Linked DNA regions of Homo sapiens: all the other regions are linked to region 1. Evidence: promoter capture Hi-C in human tissues and cell types (Jung and others, 2019). All regions are on one chromosome and are shown on one strand. The core of a region is centred on a gene start or on the middle of the fragment in contact, and the rest is flanking DNA. Distances in the headings are between cores, read along the strand shown.

Region 1 (2,637 bases), core at 1-2,500:
TATCATCTTGCTTTTCCAGTGGTGATGAAAAAGCAAAATTCACCCAAATACAATGACTACTGTCTACTTGAAACGCTCCAGGTAGTTAATTTTTGAATTATGATTCACCTTCCCTTTCCTGTTTTGATGAACCATGAACAGGAGACTGAACCTTCCCTATCAATAAAAAGCTCGCGTTTCCACCCTGCAAATTCGCGCTATGACAGTCTAATTGGCTGAGGCGCAGGTGGGATTTCCTGTCGCCATTTTAAGACACAACTCCTCTGCAAGCAAGTGCCCAGCCAGTGAAAGGGGGCTGTGTCTGAAACAAAGAGTAAGCGGGAAAAAAGGGAACCAGGCCCAGTTGCCCCTGCTCCCCTCCATGCCGCTCCCTCGTCCCCCGGACTTGGAGCGCCCCAGCTCCGTTAACCTGGACGCACCAGGTCCTTCGGTCGGGACCACGTGGGGTCTCCAGGCCCTCCAAGAGCTGGCCCCCGGCTCTTTGCGCCTAGGCCGGTGCTTTCTCGGTGCTCAGCAAATCCTTCTGGTTCACCTCACACCCAGTCCCCAAAGCAGAGCTCCACAGGGCAGATCTCAGGAAGGGCTGACCAGGTCTGCGGGTGCTGGATCCGGAAGAGGGGAGGTGCCTCCCGCTTCAGGTTAGGGACAAAGGGTTTTTAAAGGTGCCCGAGCTCCCCGCCGCCCCTGCCACTTCGGTCCCCTTCCCGCCAACCCGGGCCATCTGCAGGCTGTGCCCAGGGCCAGCCCTCCGCTCCAACGCTGCCCGTAGTCCCAGGCGCTGCCCGCGGCTCTCCGGGCTGCGCTCGGACCTGCCACTCCCGCGGCCATCCTCATGCTGCGCCCTTCCCACAATGCAACTCCCTCGCTCCTTCGGCCCCGGCGGGGCTCTGGCGTACCCAAAATGCAGGCCCCAGCGGAACGCACAGCCCTCCTGTCCTCCGCCGGTGCCCCTTTAGCCGCCCCACCCCCATCCCTAAGGGCTCTCATTCTCCAGCTGCAGCCGCAGCTGGGTTCCGAACACGCCGCCGGGCCCCGGGAGGGAGAGGGGCAGGTGCCAGGGCGGCGCGCAGCCTCTGCTCCCGGTGCCAGCTTCAGTGCGCCGGGCACACGCGCGCCCCGCAACCCCTCCCTCACCCTTTCCCCGTTGCTCAATCTCCGCCAGCCGCGGTCGCTGCATCGTCAGAGAGCTGCAAGAGGGAGGCAGCAAGGTGCGGCCGCCAGCAGTGACACCATGTGACCGGCACGGCTCACTGACACGCAGCTTTGGTTAAAGAGCGGGCGCACAGGAGGGGAGGAGACCGCGCGCGGGACGGGGAGGAATGGCCTGTCCGCGTTAAACCATCACAAGCCATGGTTGCGGAAGGGCCACGCGTCCCCCAGTAGGAGAATGACTCCGATTCGTGACCCTCAGCGCCGGTGCATGTCGATGTAAGTGCGAGGCCGGCGAGCAGAGTGTGAGTGGGGGTTGGTGGTGAGGGGAGATTCTGATGCAATCGGCCCGGAAAGGAGGAGAGCCAGGCGAGCGCGGACTGGGGCGGCCACGCCACTCCGCCAGAAGGTCGCCAGGAGCCTCCGCCCTTCACCTTCCTCCGAAATCCGCCAGGCCACGCCAAGCTCCCTGCCCAACCCTTACTGACGGGGGCCACATTTTCCCGGCCTCCGCAGCCAGACCTTGACACAAAGGACATCAAACTGCCGAGGGTAAAAACCCCGGAAGGGCGGACACCTCCACATCGCCTTTTGCCACCTTTCCCTTTATTTCCGGAGGTAAGGTGATTATCCGTTCCCGGGGAGGGCTGGGCGAGCGGCAAGGGGAGATTTAGATGTCGGAGGAGGAGGTAACGTAGAAATCATCTCTGCGGGCGTGAAAGCAGAGAGAGCTCGGCTGTGCCCGATGCTTTCGGATGTTGCTTTTAGGAGAGGAAAAGTCCAGGTCTCCTGTGCTTCCCGAACGCACGCGGCAGCGGGAGGAAGCGCCAGGGCCCCCGAGTTCACCTTTGCGTGGGCTGTGGCTTACTTTTTGGTTTGTTTTCCTGTGACTTTGGTGTGTTTTCCTGTGGCTGTGGCAGAGTGTGGTACCAGATCTGGTTCCATTTTTACGAGAGCCAGGAACCACGCACGTCTGGAGGGAGAGCGCAGCTGACCCGAGGGCGCGACCGTGTTCTGGGAGTGTTTGAATCCCCGGCCTTTGGTGAAAATTTCCTGTGTCCGCAAGGCCCAGAGGAGATCGTGTGATGTCCGGGGGGTGCTGCGTGCGGCCGGCTGGGTAGCGGCCGCGGACCACCACTAAACCGGGGCATGTTTGCCGTCCTTCCTGGTGCTCTGCCCCTCTGTAACGCGGGGAAGTAGGAGGGCGCGGGGAGAAATTACTAAAGGATGCTTGCAGTGACTCACTGTCCTTTCCTGCCCTGAAGAGGATTTTCTAAAATGCAGAGGGTGGCAGGGGACAGAGGTAGTGTTTTTTCGAGAGCCGGGATGTGCTGGAGCCAGCGAACAAAAGGCCACCTCTTGCGCGGTCTTGGGCGCAGACTGCTCTCGCTTCCAGTCCCACCTCCTCCCCAACCCCCGGCACCTAGTTCGCGTCCCTAAACGTTGCCGCAGAGGCCTTTAAACGCGTGGGTCGGTGCCGGGAGGAGA
Region 2 (2,637 bases), core at 95-2,594, 1.5 Mb before region 1:
CTCCAGCCTGGGCGACAGAGAGAGAGATTCCATCTCAAAATATATACATACATTGCACTTCCTGTGTGAGCCCCTTGCAAAGTTTGCTTGCCCTAGGCTTGTCCTTCTCTCTACCCCTGAGTCCCTATGTTTGGACTCCTCTCTACACAGCAACAGGCTGGGGGATTCTCTTTAACCCACCAGCAACTGTTCAACCTGGCGCATGGGCAGGAAAACTCGAGATTAAAGTCTGAGAACCTGGAAGGGATTGTCAGATCCAACCCCATCATTTCAGATGAGAAAGCTGAAGACCAGCGAGAGGAAGAAACTTCTCCTGTTAAAGCACACTGGATGAAGACGTGCTCCACTCCCAACCTCCAGAAAAAAATCACTGATAGAGTGGCCTCCACTGTTCACCAATTTTGCCTTTTTATATGATAGTTTTCTTTCCTGAGAGGGTTGAGAATCCCCATGCAGTGCTCTTTCTGGCAAGGGCATCATACTTGGCAGATTTTACCTTTATTATCGGGGAAAACTGGACAGTCACGGGGAGCTGCTCCCCTTCTTTTGGACTTGGAAACAAAAGAACCTCACTGGGGAGGAGTTCCTGAGGAGAGGAGTGTAAGTTGGGGTGAAGGGAGTGAAACCCTGGGCTCCCAGGGGAAGAAGAGTGGGCCTTCGGCTGCCTTTAAGAGGCCTCTTGCCCCTCCCCTGCCTCATAAGGAATCTGAAACGTTTAAACCCCAGAGGCTGACTCAGTAAGAGTCATTTGCATAATATTTTAGAGTGATTTAGCCATGCGCTCGACATGTGGCTGATTTAGCTATGCTGGGCTTGGTGGTCATAAGAATAGCACTGGTTCTGACCGACACATCCTCTATCTCTCTGTCCAATGACCCCAACCCTTGCTTGGGCACTTACTGTTTGTCAAATTTGGACCAATCACCTTACTGTGTGCCAGTGTCATGCTAAGCTCCAGGAATTTGAAGATGAATCCAACCTGTGGCCCCTTGGAAAGTCAGGTCTGAGACTTGGAAGTAGGTGTCTGTTTGGTGGGGATCACCCAAAGATCAGCCCATGGGTGTCCCTAATTTGGACAAAGAACCCTCCAAACTGGACCCATCTTGGTGTGCCTGCCTGCATGACCTATTTTTTAAGCTGCAAACAGCTAGCATTACCTGTTCTCAACATCTGGCATTACCTACCTTCTTAGTCACCTTCCCTCAGGCTTCAAACAGCTGTAGGGCCCCACCTCCTATCCATCTAGGGTCCCTCCCTCCCCTTTTTCTTCCTGAAAGGATCTGGAGACACCAGCTCCACAAGTCCTGGTGTCTTTAAAAGGATCAGCTTGAGGAATAAGGCTCGTCTGAGAGCTGTGACATTCATCTGACTCTAGTGAAAGTCCAACAGCCACTCCCTTTTTGGCCTCCAACTGGGCACCATGAGGGCCTGCATCTCCCTGGTATTGGCCGTGCTGTGTGGCCTGGCCTGGGCTGGTAAGTCACTATCTGGCGGGCATGGGATTGCTGGTGGGGCGGGATCTTGCCTAAAGAAGCAGAGAGTTGGAGAACTTGGTAGAGGGCAGGGCCGTGGGACAAGGGAGGGTGAGCTCTGTCCTAAAGCCGCAGAGCACTTTTGGGTTGTCCTTGTCTGAGGGTGCAGGCGTTGGTCCCGGAATGGACTGGACTATGTGGAGAGAGTTGCAGGGCTGATGGTCTGATTTCATGGAATTCCCTTCTTGACACCTTGGAGGATCAGCCCCAAATATCCCTTAGTCCAGCCTGACTTTTGATCTCCCCAAGATTTTGTTGTCTGGGGCCACTGTAAGGAATAAAGCTAGGGCTGGTGTCCATGGGGTCTGAGTGGCCTGGCTGCCCTTGGTCACTCCTTCCACTGCCTGGTGACAGGTGAGGTTGTTTAGGGTGTGATGTTACTTTGGGTAGAGCCTTAGGAGGTGGGCAGGCTTAGGAGGAAACTGAAAGGACCTTTGACCAGGAGGTGGGCCTCGTCCTATCTGGGGCTGTACAGGGGTCAGAGGAATGGATCTCTGTTGCAGTGTTAGGAGAATTGAAGAATACAGAAGGGACCTGGCCCACAGTTATGAGAGGTCCAGGGGATGGGACTGGCAGAGGAACAGGACCATGTTCCTGTTTAGTAACTGTGCAAAATGCTGGTGCTGATGGGTTAATTGGTAGCTAGTGGGTGGGTGGGAAGGAGTGCCAAGGGAGGGGCTGAGCTGAGGAGTGTGGGGAGAATCCTCCTCTGCCCACAGGAGAAAGAATCCTTCCACTGGGTTGCTCCTGTGTAGGACTGTGGAAAGGATTAAATGAAATAATGTATGAGAAGCACCTGGTGCAAAGTGAGATCTCAGTGAACTGGAAATTCGCTATGATTATGACTATAAATTTTCTTGGGAGAAACTTCCGCTTGGGGTCATTTCCAACTGGGTTGTGGAAAGGAGACCCTTATGGGATTTCTAAGTGGAAAACCCCTGGAAGAGGAAGTTGTGCCTCCCAACCATGGATGAGATAGTGCATCTTACCAGAAACCAGCTCTGCCTGGGCCCTAGTGGGTGGAGAGGCAGTGGGAGAGCATGAGGGTGGGCCTGGGAGCCACCAGCCTCAGCCCTGTTGGTTGGGAGGAAGGTGGAACTTGGGG
Region 3 (2,637 bases), core at 79-2,578, 1.0 Mb before region 1:
GAGCTTTCTGTGGGAGCTCTGGGGAATAGTGAAGGATAGAGGAGTTCATGTTCCTGGGAAAACAAGACTGAGCACTGAAAACTTAGCAAAGACACTACATTCTCTGCTTATTTAATGGATGATAAAATTCAATTCAAAAGTAGAGAGCGAATCATTTTATTTATTAAATTTCTCATGGGAATTTTCATATTTAATGATTTTTAAGCCAATAAATGGCTTTATTTTTCTAGTAATACAACATGTGGTTAGGGCGGGAGGGGGAGGAGGTTGACTAGGAGCTACTACTACATTAGAAACGAGAGTCTCAGAAGCCTTATCTTAGTCAATATGCAGATCTTGGCAGTCACTGAGCTGCTACTTCAGTTTTTTCATCTGTAAAAAAGCAGCCAAGAGTCCAGGGCACCCACCCCATGGACACATTAACTGTGAACACTGCCAGAACCATTTTTCAATACTGTAATTCTCCTCCTGGTCAGTTTTTGCTCCTAGACAGCTGACAACACGTTTCCTTCCATGGCCTCAGTGTAACTTTTAGATGATTCGCTCAAGCTCATAAACTGACTCAGTCTTACCACCCAACCTCATTTCTCTCCACCCATTGCCAGGATGAATTCTCACCTGTGGTAATGCTCTCCAGCTGGAGGCCACCAGGAACACACTGTATAGGTTGAGTTTACTACTCACAGCCAGGGCAAGCACACACCATGGGGAGCCCTGGGGTGTCTCAGCAAAAGGGTGTTAAAAAAAAAAAGATTTTTTTTTGAGACAGGGTCTTGCTCTGTTGCCCAGGGTGGAGTGCAGTGGCACAATCGTGGCTCACTGCAGCCTTGCCCTCCCAGGTTCAAGTGATCCTCCCACCTCAGCCTCCCAAGTAGCTGAGATTACAAGGTACATACCACCACACCCAGCTAATTTTTGTATTTTTTGTAGAGATGGGGTTTCACCATGTTGCCCAGGATGGTCTCAAACTCCTGGGCTGAAGCGATCCACTCTCCTCGGCCTCCCACAGTGCTGGGCCACTATTTTGGGTCTAAAAAGGATTTGAGGGAGAGTCCAAGGAAGCCAGGCTTTGCTCTGCATTGACTACTATTAGGAAGCTGGGGTAATTCTATGATCAGTATGTTATTTATAGGGAGGGCAGACTAGAGGGAAGCTAAAGCTGCAATTAGTAAATAAGCAACTACCATTCATATTAGCTGAGAGGGAGGATGTTTAGTATTTTGTGGCTTGGACAAGGCTCATGTTTTGTCAGGTTCAGGCAGGAATGCCAAGTGGTCTTGCCTTTATCTTGATCCATCGTAGTCACGGTGTGGCCTTGTCTGATATTGATGTTCTGTGAATTGTTTCCCTTCCACAGAGAACACCAAAGTCTAGCTGTTGGTTCCAGGCCAGCTCAGGGCAACACTGAGGGCTACTGATAGTACCAGGCCAGCTCCTGGATGTCAGGCCTACTTTTCTCCTTAGCAGAGAGGGTCTCCTTGCTATCCTCTGACCATGCTACCTCACGCCAATCCCCAAAGCCAGGAATAGGTGAGGTAAGTAGGGCAAAACACTTGGGAAGAATTCACACTTGGGCACCAGCCCTGTGCAGGCATGGCCCTGAGAGGGAGTGGCTCTGCAAGTTTTGTGCATAACTCCCTTCGCTTGCCTCACCTCTGTCCCACTCTACACAATCCTTTAGTCTGGTCTCTGCCCTTCCTTCTTCATTCTCCCACCCTAAATCCTACCCAACTTCCTCCCAAGATCAGACACAGCTTTCCCTTCTCTTACTGGAAATGCTGCTCTCGTGATCACCATAAGAAGAGAGGTTCAGGCCGGGCATGGTGGCTCACGCCTGTAATCCCAGCACTTTGGGAGGCCAAAGTGAGTGAATCACCTGAGGTCAGGAGTTCGAGACCAGCCTGAGAACAACATGGTGAAACCCTGTCTCTACTAAAAATAAAAATTAGTCAGGCATGGTGGCACGTCCTGTAGTCCCAGATACTTGGGAGGCTGAGGCAGGAGAATTGCTTGAACCTGAGAGGCGGAGTTTGCAGTGAACCAAGATTGTGCCACTGCACTCCAGCCTGGGCAACAGAGTGAGACTCCGTCTCAAAAAAAAAAAAAAAAAAAGAAAAGAAAAAAAGAGCCTCTAAAAAAAAGAAGTGAGTTTATCCAACTCACTATAGATCTTAGCCTGGCTGGTTCTTTTTCAACATTCACATGTATTAAATGTGCCCCTGAGATAGGACTTCCCAGCGCACCATAGCTAAAATACTGGACACCCACCCTCAGTCATTCTCTCTCTTTACCTGGTTTTATTTTTTTCACCCATTGATAACTATCTGAACAATTTTTATTTGTTTACATGTTATTTCATTTCTTTCTTTCTTCTTTTTGAGAGAGAGTCTCGCTCTGTCACCCAGGCTGGAGTGCAGTGACGCAATCTCAGCTCACTGCAAACTCCGCCTCCCGATCTCAAGTGATTCTCATGCCTCAGCCTCCTGAGTAACTGGGATTACAGGTATGTGCCACCACGCTTGGCTAATTTTTGTATTTTTAGTAGAGACAGAGTTTTGCTATGTTGGCCAGGCTGGTCTCGAACTCCTGACCTCAAGTGATCCTCCCGCCTTGGCTTCCCAAAGTGCTGGAATTACA

The links. Contacts are between HindIII fragments. The study calls those that stand out against the background at their distance.
Region 2: a contact is called between the fragment with the promoter of ENDOU here and the fragment with the promoter of SLC38A1 in region 1, in 1 of the 25 tissues and cell types used here (stomach).
Region 3: a fragment that was not itself captured here is called in contact with the fragment with the promoter of SLC38A1 in region 1 in 1 of the 25 tissues and cell types used here (spleen).

What each region holds. Positions count from the first base shown.
Region 1 is chr12:46,267,656-46,270,292 of GRCh38, reverse strand. It overlaps SLC38A1 (solute carrier family 38 member 1), which reads left to right and starts at 1,250. Exons shown (of 17, transcript NM_030674.4): 1 at 1,250-1,767. LOC105378248 (a long non-coding RNA gene) reads right to left here and starts at 1,222. Exons shown (of 2, transcript XR_001749101.1): 1 at 1,135-1,222. RefSeq lists silencers at 701-800, 881-1,060 and enhancers at 1,471-1,570, 1,621-1,670, 810-1,792, 1,791-1,850. The HindIII fragment of the contact is 6,474 bases long and covers 1-2,637 here.
Region 2 is chr12:47,724,197-47,726,833 of GRCh38, reverse strand. ENDOU (endonuclease, poly(U) specific) reads left to right here and starts at 1,344. Exons shown (of 10, transcript NM_001172439.2): 1 at 1,344-1,475. The coding sequence starts at 1,421. The region is part of intron 3 of RPAP3-DT (RPAP3 divergent transcript); the gene reads right to left. RefSeq lists a silencer at 710-829. The HindIII fragment of the contact is 12,082 bases long and covers 1-2,637 here.
Region 3 is chr12:47,279,749-47,282,385 of GRCh38, reverse strand. No RefSeq gene overlaps it. Among named protein-coding and RNA genes, the nearest start is that of PCED1B-AS1, 65 kb to the right of the region's middle. RefSeq lists a silencer at 1,106-1,400. The HindIII fragment of the contact is 4,624 bases long and covers 1-2,637 here.